5 separate regions of the Homo sapiens genome follow, and regions 1, 2, 4 and 5 are each linked to region 3. The links are contacts of gene promoters, found by promoter capture Hi-C in blood cells and fetal thymus (Javierre and others, 2016). All regions are on one chromosome and are shown on one strand. Each heading gives the region's core, a stretch centred on a gene start or on the middle of the fragment in contact. The rest is flanking DNA. Distances are from core to core; before and after follow the strand shown. Region 1 overlaps LOC124901750 (a long non-coding RNA gene). Region 2 overlaps AKR1B1 (aldo-keto reductase family 1 member B). Region 3 holds the start of TMEM140 (transmembrane protein 140). Region 4 holds the start of STMP1 (short transmembrane mitochondrial protein 1). Region 5 overlaps MTPN (myotrophin).

Region 1 (4,335 bases), core at 343-2,842, 520 kb after region 3:
GACATTTGGGTCGTTTTCAATTTTTGACTACAGTGAATAGAGCTGCTATGAACATTCTTCTACAAGTCTTTTTGTGAACATGTATTTTCACTTACCTTGGATACTTACCTACAACTGCAATTGCTGAATCAGAAGATGTGTTTAACTTTATAAGAAACTGCCAAACTTTTTGTCAAAGTGGTTATATCATTTTATACTTCCATCAGCAATATATGTGAGTTTTAATTGTTCTGCATCCTTACCAATACTTGATACTGTCAGTCTTAGATTTTAGCTATTCTAGTGGGCATGAAGTAGAATAACATTGGGGAAATCACCACTTCAGACTCAATTTTTCCATCTACACAATGGTGCAGTAAGACTTAGAAGTCAAAGGAAATAAGTATTTGAAAGGGCTTTGTAAAGTGTAAAGCGTTGATCAATACAAAATATTCATCTTGACAGAAGCCAAGATACATGATGCTGAACATACCACGCAGTCCTCTGGGTATAAATATAGGTTGAAAAAGATTAGACTGGGAAATAAAATGTTTGTTACTTTGTAACCATTTCCTTTTTGTTATATTATTTTCTTCCTGGAAAATTATATATAGGAAGACAAATTCAGGTAGTTAATTAACTGGAACCCCCAATCATTCATTCTAATCACCGATAGGCATCCAATAAATGTTTAGTTAAGCAATGAAGTATTTAGTTACACATTTCTCATAAGTACATGAATGTTGCTTATATTGCCCTTTTAAAGAACTTATTATTTCTTTAAGGAGATATAATCAACACATCTTCAGACATAATCTGCCTTTGGTCTGTTTCTGTTCAAGCAATGCTGCAGAGGCTTTTAGCTAGCCTGCTACTTCCAATAGCTGTGATCTTTCTTGAATTTTCATAATTTAGCTAAATATTTACATATATTGACTATCAACAAAAACATAGCAACCACATAAATATATTTTATTTGAAGCAAAATATTGTACTTGTAGATTTTTTTTCTTTTTGTAATTGGTATTCAATGATGCCTTTTTGTCCTCACTTATCAAAAGGAATCCTTCTTTTAGTGAAGTTAATACATAAGGAAATCAGCTTGAAAACTTCATGAGAACCAGTTTTCTAGAATCAACATCAACCATTATCTCTTTGTAGCCCCCTGGAACCTTCGAATGGAGAGGGGAGGATTCTCTTCCTTCACCCTCCCCCATTTCCCATTTGGGCAATACAAATAGCCCAAGTCTTAGTTATTCATTGAGTTTGATGTTAAGAGGTACAAAAAGCTTATAAGGCTCGCATTCAAGGGGAAACTGGGCCAACTATAAAATCTAAAGAGAAAGTACGATGTGAAAATTGTATCTGAAGGATAAAAAAGTGTGTCTCACATATATTTGAATCAGATGAATAGTCAGCTACTTTGTTTCTCTAAGAAAATTAGTATAATATTGTTTTCTAGCATAGTAGGATACTTCTGTGTATAATAAAAGACATCCTCAGTGTATTGGTGTTTTGGTTTTACTCACTCACCTTTGCCCATTTTGGACAACAGAAATGGAAAGCAAGAGTAATTTTGCTGGAGAAAGAGAGATGGCTGATGCTGGTATGTGGATATGCATGTATGGACATGTAGACCAAGGAGTCTCCTGTGTTCCCCGCCCTCCACACTCTCCTTCAAACACATTAACACGACAATGAAAGTATTCTGGCAAGTTTGGGTTTGTGGATGTGTCATGGGTTGATAAATTTGGTAAGTAGTTTCATATAATATTTTCATAGGTGAAGAATCAGAAGATTATCAAAAAATTGAAATAGTGTCAGAGTTCTATAGCTCAGGAATCTCCTGGCATCCATATACCTTTTACTTCGCTATCCATTTAAATATTTCTTCTAAAATCCCAATGTCAAACCCAGAGATTAAGACCAGAAGCTTGATCTGATAGCCCTCCTCAAAATACTTATCTTCCAGGTACTTTAAGGTTAATTTCACTGATGCCGTCTAGTGCTACAGTTTTGTCTCATGATACTTTTAGAGAAGTGCTTGAGGTTGATATATGCAATGCAAAGACATCTACTGGCCCAGTCACAGGTCATCTAATTTTCCATCTTTTTGCTACTCAATTCAAAATTGAAGACTTTGTAAACTCTCTGTAACCAATTTCCTTGTAAACGCAACTCATTTCTTGCCCTCCCTTTCCCCATGCCTTCTTTCCTGAGAAAACTGGGGCAAGTATTCATAAACATCTGTTGTGGTTGTTCTTTGATTCGTTGCAGATTTATTCTGTGTTCTGTTATGTTCTTTGTCCTGGGAACCTGACCTCTAGGTACTGTGTTACCGAGGTTCCCTTGCCCTCTGGTCAGTGGGAGGAGAAGATGTTGGAATATTTATTTTCAATATATCTCTCCTCACCATTTATTCCCACTCACCATCTGCTTCACCGTGGTTCTATCAATGGCCTCATCACTCAAACTATAGCTACCGTTGGGCAGCCCATCTTGACTCTAACTCTTAGCCAGTCTCCAAAAATTGCGTTTTCTCCCCCTACTGTTCAGGCCTGGGGATCATCAGAACTCCCTGCTATTCCTAGTGTCTGGGCACCTCAACATCCCTTGCTAGTTCCTCTAACCCGAACCACACCTCTAAATATTTCCTTTATGAAAAAGCCTCTACACAACAAAGCTGAGTGTGCTGTCTCTCTTGCTGAGAGGCTGATAGAGCCTCCTGTCTTCAAGTTCTTCACAGTTCATGAGACAGTGTCAGACTTAGGGATCATAGACTCCCCTAAGCCTGAAATTTAAAAAGTACCTGAGCACACAGACTCACATTTCCCTCTGTGCACTCACAGTACTTAGAGGGAAGCATGATGTCAGGAATAAAAACAAACTGAACTAATTAAATAGGAACATTTTTCTGAAACACCCTATGCCGTTTGAGTTAGAAGCCCATAGGAAAATATTATATTTGCATTTTTTCGGTCAAGAATGATATTTTCTGGGGACAGAAACAGAACTTGGGAAGATAATGACCGTTTGTGGAGCTATTGGGATGTGTATCAGCTATTGCCACAAAAATTCTGTGTCACAAACCACCCCAAAACTCGGTATCTTAAAATAGCAATCATTTAATCTCACAGAGCTGCAGGTCAGCTGGGTGGCTCTGCTTCATCTTCTTCATGTGCCTTGGACCAGTGACTAGTCAAGACACACTCTTCTCGTTGCAATGACTAGTCAAGACACACTCTTCTCGTTGCAATGATAGGGGTGCAAGAGGCCAGGCCCAACCACTCAAGCACATTTCAACCCCCTATTTCTGTCACATCTGCCAAGGCAAGCCATGCAGCCAAACCCAAAGTCAAGGATTTGGGGAAGGATATTTCCCTTGTGGAGGTAAAAGGGGGAAGGAGTGAATATTTTTGAAAGTACTCTACCACAGTGGGCCAGCTACAGAAAAGTCATTCTAGAGTGGGCTACAGTTTGTTCAATTAAAGGCAGGAGAATTTTTGTTTCAGAGTTTTTCTTCTCATTCTTCGTAAGTGAACAAGAGTGACTTTACAGTGTACACTACTCAGGTGATGGGTGTACAAAAATCTCAGAAATCATCACTAAATAACTTATCCATGTAATCAAATACCACCTGTTTTCCAAAAACCTGTTGAAATAAAAAATAAATAAATAAAATCAAGCTAAATATCTTGGCATCCAGAAACTTTTTTAAAATGTAGAGATAGTATTGCCCTAGAAATAGAGGCATTTTGGGGTTTTAGATACCAATCAAATGTTATTATGAAGATTTCATTATCTGTTCATGGTTAAACTGGTATTGCCAGACTTTGAGACCCTAATCAAGCTTTGTCTATTTTTATTTTCCTGCAAGGTTCAGATCCCAAAAGAATTACTCTCATTCTGAATCCTGTCTGAGACTCAGTACACACCAATGAGTATGCCTGTTGGTAATTCTACAATCTGGATATCCAAAAAAGTGGCCAAATGGTCCAAAACTAATACTCCCTTATCTGTACAGGAGCTCCCTAATTAGTAACTAATTTGTGCTTTAACTAAGGTTTATTTGAGCCCCTCAATTTGGAAGGGGTTAAAGTTGAAGATTCCAACAGATTTCACCAAGCTTAGTATCCACCAATTCTTTCCTATCTTAAGAAGGGGAGGAAAATATTTTCCTTATATAGGATTGAAGAGGAACAAAAAGCCCTTAGTTATATTGATCATCGGGAGGAAGGGGAAAAAAACTATTTTAAATGGTTTGAAACAAAGGAACAGCAAAGAAAATAGGGAGCAGAACAACAGGAAATGTCCATTATGCTGCTAGCACAGTGTGTGAACCAAAGAGTGTCCATT
Region 2 (3,808 bases), core at 1,183-3,682, 690 kb after region 3:
AATGTCTGCTTCATTCATTACTATTTCTAGCACTTCTCACAGTGCCTGGCAAATATAGGAGTAGGTATCCAAAAGTTATGTGTTGAATTCATATGAAGAAGTAAAACGACTTTAGAGATAGCTGTATGGTGAAAACGCCCACTTGTATTCCTGTGGATGAGGAGATCAGGTTGGTGTAGAATTGTACGGTGGGGGCAGCGGGGAATGGTGGGTCAAAGTAATGGTATAAGGATGGACTTGGAATCAACTTCCTTTTTTTTTTTAATGACTTAAAACCTTTCCCTGGGGCCGGGCGCGGTGGCTCACACCTGTAACCCCAGCACTTTGGGAGGCAGAGGCGGGCAGATCATGAGGTCAGAAGATAGAGACCGTCCTGGCTAACATGGTGAAACCCCGTCTCTACTAAAAATACAAAAAATTAGCCCGGCATCGTGGCACGCACCTGTAGTCCCAGCTACTTGGGAGGCTGAGGCAGGAAAATCGCTTGAACCCCAGATGTGGAGGTTGCAGTGAGCCGAGGTCCCGCCACTGCACTCCAGCCTGGGCGATGGAGCAAGACTCCATCTAAAAAAACAACCAAACAAAAAAACCTTTCCCTTGTATGTGTGTATGTATTCTTTCACAGATGCTCGACAGAAGATGTGATCCTTTGCCTGTCTTTGTGACAGCTGGAGGAGGCCCTGCAGGCAGGTGCAGTTCCTTATTCTCCTGGGTCTTCCCATGCCGTAGCGGCTGTGTTGTACCTTTCAGACCCTCAGCAGGGCTCTGGTAGTCTCTACTCTTGAAGGTCCTCAAACTCCATTCTCTTCTCAGGTGAGGGTTTCAGGCAGATGGGGAGACCATCTCTGCCCCAGACCCATGTGGCTTGGACAGGGTTTCTTTCTGGCAGTCTTGCCTTCTACATTGGATAGTAAACAATTACACCTGTAATCCCAGCACTTTGGAAGGCCAAGGCGGGTGGATCACCTGAGGTCAGGAGTTCGAGACCAGCTGGCCAACATGGTGAAACCCCCTCTCTACTAAAAATACAAAAATTAGCCCGGCATGGTGGTGGGTGCCTGTAATCCCAGCTGCTTGGGAGGCTGAGGCAGGAGAATCACTTGAATCCAGAAGGTAGAGGTTGCCATGATCTGAGATTGTGCCACTGCACTCCAGCCTAGGCGACAAGAGCAAAAAAAAACTCGGTCTCAGAAACAACAACAACAACAAAAACCCATCACAGCATTGTAAAGCCAGGAAGCTTTTAAAACAGAGATGATGTCTGGTGCCCACCAGTGTCTTGTTACTGATAGTGTTTTTAATCTAGTTGAAAAATTGTTGGAGGTAAAAGTCATTGTAAGTCTCCTATGTATGCTCACAGAATACTCCTAGGGCTGAAGGTACAACTATGTTTCTCCATCTTTTGCCATGATCACTACCTCCCTCCCACCTAGGAGCCTTGTGAGACTTTTTTTTCCCCTAATTTGCCCCAAAATAAAATTGTAATATCAGAGATAATATTGTACTTCTGCTTATGGCCAGTAGCCTTCTAGAGGGTCACAAGCTGTTCTATAAGCTGAGGGGGGTTTTTTTGCCCCAGAGAACTAATTTTTGTCTCTTTGGGGACAATAGCACCCACTTTAAGAATGCATGAGGTAAAAGAAAATGTGCCAGGAAAGACTTGCTCCACCTTCCCCAAGTGGGGTAAGCTTGTGATGGCCCAAGATCCTTGGATGGGGTGAGGGTTGAGGCGCTGTGGGCATGGAGGTAACACAGGAGCCAGATTTACTGTTCACTTCCCTGGTGTCTCTAAAGCCCCCATCTCTTCCTCTTCAAGACCAAAGACATTTAAATAAGCCCTGCCCCTACAGGGTCAGTCCTGGTCCATGCACATCTCAACTAGTTGGAAACAGCAGTGTCTTAGAATTTGGGACAAATTGATTAAAACAGAACAGGAGGAAGTTAATTTCTGCTGCCAAACCTGATTCTGAGTGATCGTTTCCTGTTCCTTGCTCCAGGATTATCAGCACAGCATTCTCATGCTTCCTACTCAGGACCGTTTCTTTACCCAAAGTGAAGTTTCCTTTGCCCCCTCCCCTTATCCTTTGATTTCAGTAGTAACACCTGCTAACTAGAGAACATTTCAAAAATGAAGAGTTCCCTGTTCCCAGAGATCCCCGTGGTTAATATTGCAAAATATCCAATCTCTGAGATACTTTGGTTTTACCATAAACACTGTCCTGTGACCGTCTTCCTGTTTAGCACTGTGGCTTGCTTTTTGACTTGCAGAGGGAAGAGAGGGAGGGGTATCTTGAAGTAACTAGCAAGACCTGTAAGCAAAAGGGAAGAAGACTAGGTTTTAAAAGGAGTGTTGTATCTGTGTAGGAGGGAGACACTGATTTTAGTTATCAGTGTCTCAGAGTTGGTATTAGCCAGCCGGTGTTATCAAAGGAGGAACTAGGACCGCTGTCTTGAAGGAGGTGGTGGAGGACTCAAGGGCAGAGGCTTCTCACTGCCATCACTTGGTGCCATCAGCCCAGAGCATTTCAAGTCACTGCCCAACGTAGAGCTTTGCAGAGCCAGAAGTTCTGGGAGGAATGGGCATGCATGGTTTTGCCCATCAAGGGCACACAGATTAGTGGCAGGATCGGGTTAGAAACATGTAGGATTTGTATGATTGAGCTGTAATTGGAGTGTTTCATATACTGCATTTCTACAGCTCTCATCAGTAATGGCTGTGCCTGGATGCCACCCAGCATGTTTTCATAGTTTACCTTCTTTTTAGAAGTCAATCTGGACCCCTCCTTCTGTTTGCATTTTCTCTTTGTTGACATGGAATGGGGAGATGTTGTCATCCTGTGTTGGCATTCCCAAGTTTAGTGAATGGTTTCTCACCATAGCTTAAGTTGGCTGCTTCATTTTTCATAAGGCAAATTAGTTTCTCTCAGGGAAGGGCTGTACATTGAGATCATTAACATAGAATGTGGTTGTGGATCCTCGTACATTTTCATTGCAGAGGTGACTTTTTCCCTCCAGCACCTTTGATCAGCCTCCCAGCACACATGTCTCCAGCGAATGGCACATATCCAAGGAATGATCAGCAGCTTCTTCGTGACCTCTTGCAGTCATTGCTGTCTTTTACTTTTCTAGAAAAACCTCTCACAACTTTTTTTTCATGTCGTGCCAACGCAAGCTTGATTATCCTAGTCTGTGCTCTTTTGGTTCCAAAGAACTGAAAAACCACTTTAATCTTAAGCAGGAAAAAAAAAAGTGTGTTTGGGGTGGGGATTGATTGACTTCCCCAAACAACAGCCGCTGACATTAGGTGTTTGAGATTCAGGGTTGTAAATGTTGTCACCAGGATTTGGCCTCCCTCCACTTTCCTGCAGCAGCTCCAGGCTGACATTCTCCCAGCTCAGTGACCCCAGCAGAACCGGGGCTGGACTCAGGGGTTCCAATTCAAGTGCAAAGATTGAGTCTTATGGCCTGGATTGAGTCATGTTCCTGTCCCCGCACCAGTTGCATGGCAGGCAGTGCGTGGCTAGGCTGAGCCTGCGGAGTGTGCCCTCAGCAGCTCCTCAGAGAAAAATCAATCAAGGCGCCATCAAGCCTGGAGAAAGTTCAGTGTGTCCTGGGCAGTTTCCTGCCTGGGCCCCAGTTGTTCTTTCTGGGGTAGGGATGTCCTCTGCTCTCCCTGCTGTCATCAGTGGTGGTTGTGCCCGGACACCACTCAGGGCCTGTGGTAAGGCATTCTTTCTGGAAATTGAGATTCTCTGTTCCTTCAACCGTGCAGAGTGGGGAAGGCTGCAAGAGCAGCTTCTGAGGTCCT
Region 3 (4,248 bases), core at 414-2,913:
CCAAGTAAAAAACCAGAGTTTCCCTATCAACACTGTAGGTAAAAACACTTGATGATACCAAAAATATGGTTAAACTGGCATTCTCACACAATGATGGTGGATGTGAACATTTGTACAAACTTTCAGGGAGGCAGATTGGCAATAAACATTAAAAACCCTAAAAATAGTCATATCTCTTTGGCCCACTTTTATAAATCTATCCTAAGACAGCAATCAGAAATCCAGTCAATAATTTATACATAGGAATGTTCAGCACAGCATTACTTTTGGCACAAAATGGGAAGCAGCTTGAAAGTCCAATATCAGAAGTAAACTATGATGTATCAAGGATAAAATACTATGCATCTTTTAGAAAAAGCAGGTATAAAATCACTCTACATAGTGTGACTACATCCATATAAAGAGGCATAGGAGAAAGAGACTAAAGAAGTATTTGAAAATGTTAATGTTAGCTGTGGTAGCTCTGGGTGGTGACATTACAGGCAATTGTTCTCTATTTGCAGTAAAATATTTTTAGAATTATGTGCTACATTTATGAAAAAAAAAGAAATTTATAAAACAGGCATTCAAAACAGCCTTAGTAATTAGATAAAGCAGGGACTAAGCTGGAAAGAAAGTTGAGAAAGGGGAATATGTGCAAGATTGAAAAAATATCTCATGGACTGAGTCTCAGACCTGAGATTTTGGGGAATGGGGTATGGTAAGTGGATACTGAAAAATGCTCTTCAGTTATCATGAGGGAAGAAGGAAATATGTGTCTTTTCCCTCTTTCAAAGGAGCCTTTGATTTTATAGGCGAAGAAGCATAGTGGAAGTTATTAGTGAAACTAAGCCCACATTAAAAAAAATCTCTTAAAATATGCATCAAGAGAACTAAAATACCACCATGGATTTCCACTGGGGCATGAGGAGCAATCTGGTCTAATGACTAACATAAGATCTAAACATCTCTTAGGTCCCATTCTTTGAGGCAAGAACACAAGTTTTTCTGTTGATATTAATCTTCAGTGTGTATTTTAAAGTTTTATGATGTGTTCGTAACTACCATTGAATAGTGGTTTAGTTAGTGTTGGTCGGTGACCTGCTTTTGTTTACCTATTTCTGATGAACAGTGTATTGCACAAGCCACAGCCATGTCCTTGTACACACTGCGTGCAAGACTCTGCTGTGTGCAGTCAGCCCTGCATCGTTTCTAACCAGTTATACTGGCCTTACTTTCATCATCTTTGAGGCCAGAGCTACACATGTTGATGCCGAAGAGTGGAAGGAAGGAGAGCAGAGAGTAAAGGGGGTAGATTATGTAGATTATACAGACATGAGCGAGGGAGGGTCACAGATACTGAACAACCAGTGAGTTCCCCTATGTGGATTGCCAGAACATGAAATATCTGAGAAGAAAACAAAATTGTCTTACAAGGTAGTAGACGTCTGGGTAAGCTGTGATGCTTGCAGGATCGGTACTTACAGAAAGGAGGTGCAGAGACCACAGGAACACTCATGAAAAGGAGAAGCAGGAAATCAGGGTTGGTTGTTTGAATCTTCCTTCTCGCTGGCTTTCTAATGTCAGACTCCAGAAAGGAGGAGTGGAAGGGAAATGGCAGGCAGATGCAGTCCTGAGCTGGTGCCCCCTTGCCTTCGCAGTCGTGCCTAGTAAACAGCTCTCTGAACTTTGGTACATTTGTTCTGACTGATGTCACTATCAGCTGATTTCACTTTCGTTTCCTAACTTGCCAGTGGCCCATGACTTTTCAGAAATGAGGTATGTAAACAACTTTTTATTGTCCATTATGACATACTCTTTACCTACACTGTAGCCGGCAAACCAACTGATTTAAAGAGCCAGGTAAATGTCTTGATTATATCACACAATAATTCCAGAAAGGGAAGGAGCCAAAGAACTCTCGAAGCTCCCAGTGATTTAAACTGCAAGATAAACACAACCCGGAATTTTATTCAGAAGAAACCCATCAGGATCATCTGGTCCAAGCTCCCAGCCAGTGTGGCAGTCAGGACCCAGGTCACCTCCTACTCATTTCCTTGGGAAGCAGCTATGCCGTCTGTCCCCCAACCCCTTTTAGAGATCAATTTTGTAATGATGACTGGGCTTCTCTGGACACAAAACTTTGTGTCCTGAGCATTCTCACTGCAGTGTTTAGGCCCATGTTGGAGCAGCTGGAACATCTATTTTATTTCAAAATAAGAGCCGAACAAAGCTTTTATTTTTGTAAGCATTGGGGCTCCTGGCCAGAGTTTAAAAATTGCTTCCGTTGCTCACATGACCAACTGGAAATTTCAACTGTGGGTTAAACTTGGTTACATGAGACTGCTACCTAGTGCTATTGCTGAATCCTTCAGCGGTTCTCTTCTGCTTCCTTGCCCTTCCTCCAAAGGAGGAGTTATTTGAACTGCTACATTGCCCTCCCCCTGCCCCTAGTTCTTTTAAACGCAAACTCTAGAAAGAGGTGATGGGATCCAGGAGGAAGGAAGAACAGAGGCTTTGAGATCAGAGAGTTCTGCTACATACTAGCAAATTATTTAATCTCTTTGAGCATCAATTTCTTATCTGTAAAATGGAAACAGTACCTACTTTGCATGGTTGCTCTGGGGACTGGAGATAATATAAGTGCTTAGTACAATACTGGGACCATAGTAATGGTAGCTATTATTATGAAAAGTGGAATTTCTGTATATTTAGTCTAGCATCCATATTAATGCCTTTAAGACAGAAAATTAACTTTTAGATACTAATATACAGTAGTTACTCTGAAAACTCAATACTGGTGAGTGAAGTGATATAGAAGAGATAGAAACATATTTATATTTATGAAATTTATTCAAGGTTATCATGTACCTAGTTTTCAAAGAGTCAGTTTTTCAAAACTTACGAAAATCGGCAGTCCCACACTCTCCCTTTCTTCCTCTTCAGAGGCAAGCACTTTCACCTGTGCTCATTCTTTAGGCATTTACCTCAGTTCTCTAAATAACATGCTTGGATTGGTACTTCTTGATTTTTCAGTTTCAGGCATAATCTACTGACTCCCAACCATAAAAGGTGAAGATTTAGCTTTCTTCTTCCCCACTGCATGTTCCAGAAGTATGCTTCCTCTCTTCCTCCTCTATCCAAATTGGTTATAGTTTTGTTTAAATCAATATTCAGTGTTTACAATATTGGAATATGCACAGGTATACTTTATTTTATTGTGCATCTCTCTTTGTGGATCCTGCATCTTTTACAAATTGAGGATTTGTGGCATTTTTGCATCGAGCAAGTCTATTGGCACCATTTTTTCAATAGCCTTTGCTCACTTCATGTCTCTGTGTCACATTTTGGTAACTTTTGCAACATTTCAAGCTTTTTCATTATTATTATGTTGGTTATGGTGATCTTTGATGTTACTATTGTGATTGTTTTGGGGTGCCATGAACCGCACCCATATGACGGTGAACTTAATTGATAATTCAGTTCTGACCGCTCCACCAACTCTGTGTTGGTGTTCTGACCGTGTGTTCTGACCACTCCACCAACTGGACGTTCCTCCATTTCTCTCTCACGTTAGGTCTCCCTATTCCTGAGACACAATAATACTGAAATTAGGCCAATTAATGTCCCTACAATGGCCTGTAAGTGTTTAAGTGAAAGGAAGTGTCACATGTCTTTCATTTAAAATTGGAAACTAGAAATGATTAAGCTTAGTGAGGAAGGCATTGTGAAAGCAAAGATAAGCCAAATGTTAGGCCTTATGTTGTGAAGGCAAAGGTTCAGATGATTGTTAGCATTATTTAGCAACAAAGTATTTCTAAATTAAGGTATGTCCGTTAGGTTTTTTTAGACATAACAGTATCACACACTAAATAGGCTACCTTATAGTATAAACATGACTTTTATATGCACTGGGAAACCAGAAATTCGTGTGATTTGCTTTACTGTAATACTTGCTTTATTGCAGTGGTCAGGAACAGAACCTGCAACATATCTCCGAGGTGTGCCTGTAAATACCATTTACAGCAGCTGAGCCATGTAGAAAATTAAGATTACTTTTCCTATCCTGCATAACTTTTGATCTTCTCTGAAGATAATTGCTTTTTTTAAAAAGTTTGTTTGCTTGCTTGGTTTTCTATTGCTTAACACTAATCCAACCCTCAAATCTTTATCAAATCTTCTATGAATAAATTTCTATGCATCAAGTATTCTATATCTTCCTGAGAAAGGCTTTTCAGACCCTTCCAACCTGCCCCAGTCTGGGGCTTG
Region 4 (4,024 bases), core at 898-3,397, 510 kb before region 3:
TTAGCATCTCTCCTTAAATACTGAGAATTCTGAATTCTCAAATCAGAATCTGACCAGGCACAGTGGTGGCTCATGCCTGTAATCCCAACACTGTGGGAGGCCTAGGCAAGACCTGTCTCTACAAAAAAAAAATTTTAAAATTAGTCACGGGTGGTAGTGCGGGCCTGTAGTCCTAGCTACTACTAAAGAGGCTGAGGTGGGAAGGCTGCTTGAGGCCAGGAATTAAAGACTGCACTGAGCCATGATTGTGCCACTGGACTCTAGCCTAGGTGACAAAGAGAAACCTTGTCTCAAAAAAAAAAAAAAAAAAAAAAAATTAACACACAGTAAAAGTTTATTGCAAAACCAAATAGACTCATTCTGCAAAACCACTTAGAAAGTTAACTGTAATTGAATCATGTCCTCTCAGTTTATCAATGAGCAACAGATATAGTAAGCAGCTCAATTACATCATTCTATACTCTGGAGCTAAGTGATACCGCTTTTAATCTAGTGTTTACTACAAGAAAATGACTGTCATTATTCTGAACTCCTAAACTAACATCTAGTTAGGACACTACAGAAACTCCTAGAGGCAAAGGAGCAGCCCTGTCTTAGCTGGGCAGATTAAGGACACTCTTTTGACTAATTGGATTTAACAATCCATTACCATCTTTCAAAAGGACAAAAGGGGTGCATTTTGTGTTTTAATCTCTTTGATAAAGATACAGCATTTGGGGCCGGGCGCGGAGGCTCACGCCTGTAATCCCAGCACTTTGGGAGGCTGAGGCAGGCAGATCCCGAGGTCAGGAGATCGAGACCATCCCGGCCAACGGGGTGAAACCCCGTCTCTACTAAAAATACAAAAATTAACTGGGCCTGCTGGCGCGCACCAGCTACTCGGGAGGCTGAGGCAGGAGAATCGCTTAAACCCAGGAAGCGGAGGCTGCAGTGAGCCGAGATCGCACTACTGCACTCCAGCCTGGCGACAGAGCGGGACTCCGTTAAAACAAACAACAAAAAAAGATACAGCATTTGAGCCGGGAGCAGTGGCTCACGCCTGTAATCCCAGCACTTTCGTAGGCTGAGGTGGGTTGATCACTTGAGGTCAGGAGTTCGAGACCAGCCTGGCCAACTTGGTGAAACCCGTCTCTACTAAAAATACAAAAATTAGCTGAGCATCCTGGTGCGCGCCTGTAATCCCAGCTACTCCGGAGGCCGAGGAGGGAGAATCGGTTGAACCCGGGAGGCGGAGGTTCCAGTGAGCCCAGATTGCGCCACTGCACTCCAGCCTGACGACACAGCGAGACTCCGTCTCAAAAAAAATAAAAAATAAAAAAAAATAGAGGTTGAAAGCATCAAGTTTTGAATGCACAATAGCTTGGCAGAAAAACTTTCACTTGAAAATTTGATGAGCAACTCCTGGAACCTTCACCAAGCAATTTTTGAAATATACCGAGTTTTGCCAGAAAACTCGTTTTTAACTCAAATAAGGAGCCAAGAGAAATAGTCTGCTTACTCATGCTTACACATTTTGGGAAAAATTACTTGTATACCAGTGTCTGACTCATTCCTCCAACTCTGAAAGGTCTGATGAGGACTTAGCCTCTCGGACTTCGTGAGGTGGCTAATTTACGGTTTATTCCTGGCCTTCCTACCTCCTCAGAAAAGCCAACTAGCAGGGCTCCACAGCAGGGACCGGCCGGCGACCATGTAATGGAACAGGAGCGCAGAAAGAAAGGGGGGCGGACTACGAAAAGTCATCAAGGACCACACAAGCTTTAATACAAAGATTGCACAATGAGCGCGGGGCGCGGCACACAATAAGAAGCTCTGGAAACGCACACTCTCTGACACCTCAAAGTTTTAGGGACTTGGATGGCTGCAGAAAAATATTGGCAAAGGGATTTTCTGGGGAGGCAGGAAGAAAACGGCCGCCCTGCGAGGCGACGACCAGGCGCGGGGGACGAAGGGACCGCTGGACCCACGCCCAGGCCGGGTCGGCGGGGTCGGCAATCCTCAAGGGGGAAATGGGGTCCGAGGCACGCCCCAGGCAGCGGGCCCCGCTCTTCGGCAGCTCCACTCACCAGGAACTGGAGCATGATGTCGGTGGGGAGGGCGAGGAGGGCGCGAAGGACTGCAGCAGCTCCGCGGGCCGGTCCGAGCCTACCTCCCCATGCGCGGGGGGGGCGGAACCCCTCGTCGACTTCCGGGTCACGCCACGCCCCGCCCCGCTCCTCCCACTCAGCCCGCGCCCGGAAACGACTTGCAGTGTCGCAGCGCCCAGGTTCCCCCTGGCGGAGCGCGTTGGCCTCACCGCCTGAACCGGCGGGGCAGCGAGCGCGCGACAGGACTTGCGAAGAGCAAGTCCCGAGCCTGGCTGGGCATCCTTGAGCATCCCGCCTCTGTAAACCTGGGCCGAGGCCCAGGAATCTATATTATTCTCAGCACGCGGACTATTCTGATACACAGCCCAGTTTAGGGCTCTCTAACCTAGAAGGACGGCATGAGCAGCGGGTCCCATCCCTAGGTTCGCAGCTGAATCGTGGGGGCTTTTGCAGCATCCTCTACTTGGGCCCAGCTGGACTTTGCGGGGAGGAAAGGAGGCTTGTAGCTCTCAAAGCTCCGCAGGTGTGCTGTGTAATCAGCGTTGTGTAATCAGGTGTTGTGTAATCAAGGTAGAGGCTGGGTACCGTATGGGGCCCATGCTGCCGTGTGCCGCACGCCAGTCACTGAGATGATGAGTTTTGTAGCAGAGAAAAGGTTTATTCACCAGGCAGCCAGCCGAGGAGACGGGAGAACAGATCTCAAATCTGCCTCCCCAAAGATGGGTTTTAGGGATATTTATGGGATAGAGGAGCAGGGTGGTCTGAGGTGTGGGGAAAGGCGGTTGAAGGTAAGGAAAAGTTTGGCAATGGGTTATCTGCGCGAGGTAGTCAAGCTTCATGGCTCTTTATAGGATACATGGTCACAAAATGACATCCTTAGCATGATCTGAGTGTGGAGGTTTTGGCCCTCTAATGTCAGAAGGACACCCATCGGGCTTTCATGCAGGCCCAGTTGAGAGGTTGGTGGTTTAAACTGTACAAGAACTGACCCCAACTTCCTGAAAAACAAGAAACCTTTATCAAGCAACCCAGATGTCAGAGATGTTATCCATAAGGAAGATAGTGGGAGCTTAGATATATATTGTTTAGCTCTGTGACTTTAGCTATGTGGGTTTTTTAATCCACTAAAAGCAGGTGACTAAAAACAAGTGAGAGAAGTTGCATTTGGCAGGCCTCATCAGGTTGGCTCTCAGTTTCACTGGCCTAGCTGGGTTTCTTGCCTGGGATGGCCATAGGTCCTGTTGACAATTTGTATCATCGCCACAAAGAGTCTGTTCTGTCAGTCTTCCGGTCTGTGTATGTGTGTGTTTTTTTCTCTCTTTCTCTTTTAAAGAATTTATTTTAAGCCTATTATACCACACAGTATGTTTTAAACACTAACTCCCTAATAAGATATATAACTCCCTAATAAGATAAAGCAAAGACAAAAAAAGTTCATCTTATTAGAAACAAGATACACCATCCCTTATTGTCTTCAAAAATTATTGCACTTTAATTTTCATAATTTGACAAAGCATTCATGAAACAATCTGCAGACTAGTTTTAACAGACAAATAACACCTGTAAGCAGACATGACTGTCCTAAATTATTAGGTACGAATTTTACAAACTTTTTTTTTTTTTTGAGACGGAGTCTCGCTCTGTCACCCAGGCTGGAGTGCAGTGGCGCAGTCTCGGCTCACTGCAAGCTCCGCCTCCCGGGTTCACGCCATTCTCCTGCCTCAGCCTCCCGAGTAGCTGGGACTACAGGCGCCCGCCACCACGCCCGGCTAATTTTCTGTATTTTTAGTAGAGACGAGGTTTCAACGTGTTAGCCAGGATGGTCTCGATCTCCTGACCTTGTGATCCGCCCGCCTCGGCCTCCCAAAGTGCTGGGATTACAGGCGTGAGCCACCACGCCTGGCCCAAACTTTACTTATATTAGTGGTAACGGTGGA
Region 5 (4,017 bases), core at 1,370-3,869, 790 kb before region 3:
GCATCACACAACTAGCAAGAAGGGGAATTGGAATTCAAATCCAGTCAATTTTGCTCTAGAGCCTGTGTCTGTAACCATTACATTATACTGCCTCTCAGTATAGCCAAGTACTCAAGTGAGATAATGTGTATAAGCCACTCGCTGAAATGCCGAGCACATCATGAGTTCTCAGCAAGTACAAAGACTTTAGGATTGATGTGCTTCTCAGGAAAGGAAAGACTTGCTGTAGGAATGAGGGTTCCCTGAAGAAAATTAACTTTATGAGAAGAACTTTCTTTCAAGTGTGGACATACTTTTTTGTCTGAAACTTAGGATGTACCACCTTTTAAGTAATATAACAGCGGCCGGGCACAGTAGCTCACGCCTGTAATCCCAGCACTTTGGGAGGCCGAGGCGGGCGGATCACCTGAGGTCAGGAGTTCGAGACCAGCCTGGCCAACATGGTTAAACCCCATCTCTACTAAAAATGCAAAAAAAAAATTAGCCGGGCGTGGTGGCAGGTGCCTGTTATCTCAGCTACTCAGGAGGCTGAGGCAGGAGAATAGCTTGAACCCGGGAGGTGGAGTTTGTAGTGAGCTGAGATCATGCCATTGCACTCCAGCCTGGGCAACAAAAATGAAACTCCCGTCTCAAAAAAAAAAAAAAAAAAGTAATATAACAGCTCAATATGTGACTGTCCTTGAAGAGGAGTAATTTGAAGGCTCGTTTGTGCTTTAGCCCATCCTATTTCCATGATGAATTTTTCTCTGAAACCTTGAAATGATCTTTCTATTCATGTTAAATATGATTGCTATAGTGATATTAAAATCATATTTTTACTAGGGGTACCATAAGAACAAATCCAAGACCATTATATATGCAACTGAAAATGAACTATAGTTAACTGTGTTCAAATAAGGAATAAAACGAAACATAAAATGTCTCATTGCTCACATGTGTGTGAGTCTCATTTGTTAGTTTTTGTCATTTGAGTAAGTTTGAGCAGCTGCTTGGAAAACTTGAAGTACCTGCCTCTTTAGATTTTAATTGACATTTTAAGAATTGAATTTTTGGAAAAGTTAAAGAGATGAGACAACAGCATCAACACTTAACCCACTTGGTAAATTAAAGTTCTCAACAAATGCTTTGGTTCATATGACATTCCCCATTGTTGGAGAAGCAGAGTGGTGCAGATAGAGGAGCTTGGCAATGAAGTTAGTAAACCTAGATTTAAGGCCTGGTTCTGTAACTTCATAGCTAGTAAATCACTTGACATCTGAACTCAGTGGGTTTAATAGTATTCATACCCCAGGATTATTCTGAGAATCAAAGAAGGTAATGGTCTTTCCTATTTTTAGTACTTGCCACACTATTTATGAAATATATGAGAACTAGTCTCTGATTCTCCCTAATGCCCTAGAACAGTGGGCAACAAACATTTTCTATTAAGGGCCAGGTAGTAAACATTTTCTGTTAAGGGCCAGGTAGTAAACATTTGGGGCTTTCTGTGCCTTATGGTCTCCATTAAAGCTTCTCATCTCTGCCACTGTGATGCAAAAGCAGCCATAAGCAACATGTAAATGAATGAGCCTAGGTATGTTCCAGTAACATTTTATTTACCAAAGCTGTATCTGCCACTTAATAGAAACTCAGTAAAGATTCACAGAATGGACTTGTGAATTGAGTGTCTATGAAAAGATGCTGTGGTGTCAGAGTGTGCAACAGATGACAAGTCATATGTGTGCCATCCCACAGTTCTTTTATTTTCTGTAAGATACAAATAAGCTGCAGATATCTAAAGGTAATAAATTCCAAAATCTAGTCTTGTCCCTAACATTTTGGGGGGAGAGGCCATGGGTAATTTTCAACTAAATGTGGTATAGAATACAAAATTTGGAGTCAGATGGTTCTAGTTTTCGTATTTGTTGACTGACCTTGGGCAAGTTTCTTAACTGAGCTTGAGAGCCTGTCTACAAAATGGAGTTAACAATGTCCACTTCAGGGGACTGCTGTGAGAAACATGTGGTTACATATTTTTACTGTTACATTAAAAACTCAAAACTGCTACGAAAAATGTAAGGGAGGTAACAATCACTGTGTTTTGTATTATGTTAGACCTTATAGGTCTAGTAAAGACCAGAAATTGTCTTTACTCTGTCTCCTGTATCAATATGTAAATTAAATATGAAATTAAATGTGCTATGAAATCATCCTGCACCAGTAGATAAAATTGCAAAGTATGTATAATTGTAGGTATTTGAATAATTTTTAATGTCACTAAATACCAAATCCATTTTTAGTAGTTTCCGAAATTGAATCATATGTTTAAGTTCTATGGTAATATTTAAGTATATATTTAAACAGTGTAAGGTTTTCAGATTCTGAACATTTTCTCATAGTACCATGGAACTACAAACAGTTGCCTCAAATCATGAGATAATGGAGTTCTTTGTGAGTATAGTAGTTTCTCAAGACTGTTCTAAAATGCATATAAATTGATTCAAAATAATTGACAGTATTCTTTCTAATGATACAGTAGTACATACTTAGACAAGATAGTATTTTTAAAAAAATAATTTTTCCTTTTAATTTGGATGCTTGTGTTCACTAAGGGTAATATTTCTGTTACTATGACCCAGATGTGAATTTTTTTCATTTAATATTTATTGAGCATCTGCTGGCTACAAGGCATTATCCTAGGTATTAAAGCTATAGGGACAAATATAACAGGACCCCTTCCTTCATGGAGCTCAGCCTAATTTGGGGAAGACATACCTGTTAATGGTTAATTACAGACTGTGGTAAGTTCCCTAAGAAAGGTGGAGTTTAGCCATGAGTAACAAAAACCCTTACTACAATGATCTAAACGAGAAAGTCTGAAGATGTGCAGTCCAAGGCTAAGTGACTGGCTCCGCTGTGTATGTTGTTGATATCCCACACTGGGCACCCGCCCCACGCACCCGCCCCCCCCCCCCGCCCCCATTTTCCCCAATCCTTATGGTCACAAGATAACTACTGAACCGCCAGGCATTGTGTCTGTTGACAACAGGAAGAGGGGGGAAAGAGCTAAGGCCAAAATTAGGTCAGATAGTCACCTGTAGCTTTAAGGGAGTCTGAGGATTTCACTTATTTTCAACCTCTGTAGTAGAGGAAAGCAAAGAAGAACGGGTTGGAAGTGGGTTGTGTCAGATGCTGAGTGAGCTACAGTACTGACCTGTGATCTCCAGGGCACCAGCTGCCTGGGAAATCCCAGCAGGCTTCACAGAGAATCTAACAATTGAATGAGAGGTAATTGGGTGGTTCCAGGGAAAGAATAAAGAATGTCTTTGATGCTTTACGTTTTTCGAAGTCTTCATGAGACATTTAATATCAAAAGGAAGTACACACTGTATTCATTTAAATACTGGGGATATAGGAGTTAACAAGGTAAACAGATCCTCCGCTCTTGGACACCTCATTTTCTAGAGGGAAGGCAGAGTAACACCTCATTTTCTAGAGGGAAGGCAGAGTAAACAGGTATACCAATAAATGTAACTTAATTTCAGGTAGTAACAAGTACTGTGGGGGGAAAAAAAGCCTTTATAAGGGTAAAAAATAACTATTTTGGATAGAAAATTTCTTAAGGGTATTATATACTTTTCTCTTAAGCAGAGTAACAAGACATGATGATTTCCTTGAAGCCTTACCAGCATCCAACCCTCGGGGGTCTGTTGAAGTTTTGGTTAATTGTCCTTACACTAGCTAAGCTTTAGCCGGGCTCAGTCTTGGTTTCTTTCTTACTATAGTCATGTCAAGCTCTTGTCAGATGTTACTGTTGTTAGTGTGACCGTCTTCAGTAGGCCTTCTCTCCTTTCTGTTTTCTGTTTCTGATTTAATTTTGACTGAGAAGGTCTGTGTTTGAAATAAAAATTTCTGAGTGAGGACACCAGCATGCTTCTATGGAATGATGAAGAGCTTGAACTCTGTAAAGCTGTTTCAATGGTTTTTTAAAGTTTTATATTCACTTCCTGTCAGTTCAAATCAACATAAGGTTGCTAG

What was found. Contacts are between HindIII fragments. The CHiCAGO score rates a contact against its expected background, and 5 or more counts as called.
Region 1: a fragment that was not itself captured here is called in contact with the fragment with the promoter of TMEM140 in region 3 in 1 of 17 cell types (total CD8 T cells); the score reaches 6.2 in total CD8 T cells.
Region 2: a contact is called between a fragment that was not itself captured here and the fragment with the promoter of TMEM140 in region 3, in 2 of 17 cell types (naive CD8 T cells and total CD8 T cells). The highest score is 7.0, in naive CD8 T cells.
Region 4: a contact is called between the fragment with the promoter of STMP1 here and the fragment with the promoter of TMEM140 in region 3, in 9 of 17 cell types (non-activated CD4 T cells, total CD8 T cells, naive CD4 T cells and 6 more). The highest score is 7.9, in non-activated CD4 T cells.
Region 5: a contact is called between a fragment that was not itself captured here and the fragment with the promoter of TMEM140 in region 3, in 1 of 17 cell types (erythroblasts). The highest score is 5.4, in erythroblasts.

What each region holds. Positions count from the first base shown.
Region 1 is chr7:134,620,695-134,625,029 of GRCh38, reverse strand. The region is part of intron 1 of LOC124901750 (a long non-coding RNA gene); the gene reads left to right. Among named protein-coding and RNA genes, the nearest start is that of BPGM, 24 kb to the left of the region's middle. The HindIII fragment of the contact is 644 bases long and covers 1,271-1,914 here.
Region 2 is chr7:134,452,977-134,456,784 of GRCh38, reverse strand. All of the region lies in intron 1 of AKR1B1 (aldo-keto reductase family 1 member B), which reads left to right. Among named protein-coding and RNA genes, the nearest start is that of AKR1B1, 4.2 kb to the left of the region's middle. The HindIII fragment of the contact is 1,484 bases long and covers 1,691-3,174 here.
Region 3 is chr7:135,145,487-135,149,734 of GRCh38, reverse strand. It overlaps TMEM140 (transmembrane protein 140), which reads right to left and starts at 1,663. Exons shown (of 2, transcript NM_018295.5): 1 at 1,465-1,663. It also overlaps a transcript of CYREN not described here. RefSeq lists an enhancer at 1,385-1,884. The HindIII fragment of the contact is 6,449 bases long and covers 1-2,214 here.
Region 4 is chr7:135,660,637-135,664,660 of GRCh38, reverse strand. STMP1 (short transmembrane mitochondrial protein 1) reads right to left here and starts at 2,147. Exons shown (of 3, transcript NM_001130929.2): 1 at 2,067-2,147. The coding sequence starts at 2,081. It also overlaps the pseudogene RPL15P11. RefSeq lists enhancers at 364-888, 889-1,413 and a silencer at 2,053-2,272. The HindIII fragment of the contact is 1,162 bases long and covers 1,761-2,922 here.
Region 5 is chr7:135,938,514-135,942,530 of GRCh38, reverse strand. The region is part of intron 3 of MTPN (myotrophin); the gene reads left to right. Among named protein-coding and RNA genes, the nearest start is that of MTPN, 37 kb to the left of the region's middle. The HindIII fragment of the contact is 2,216 bases long and covers 1,512-3,727 here.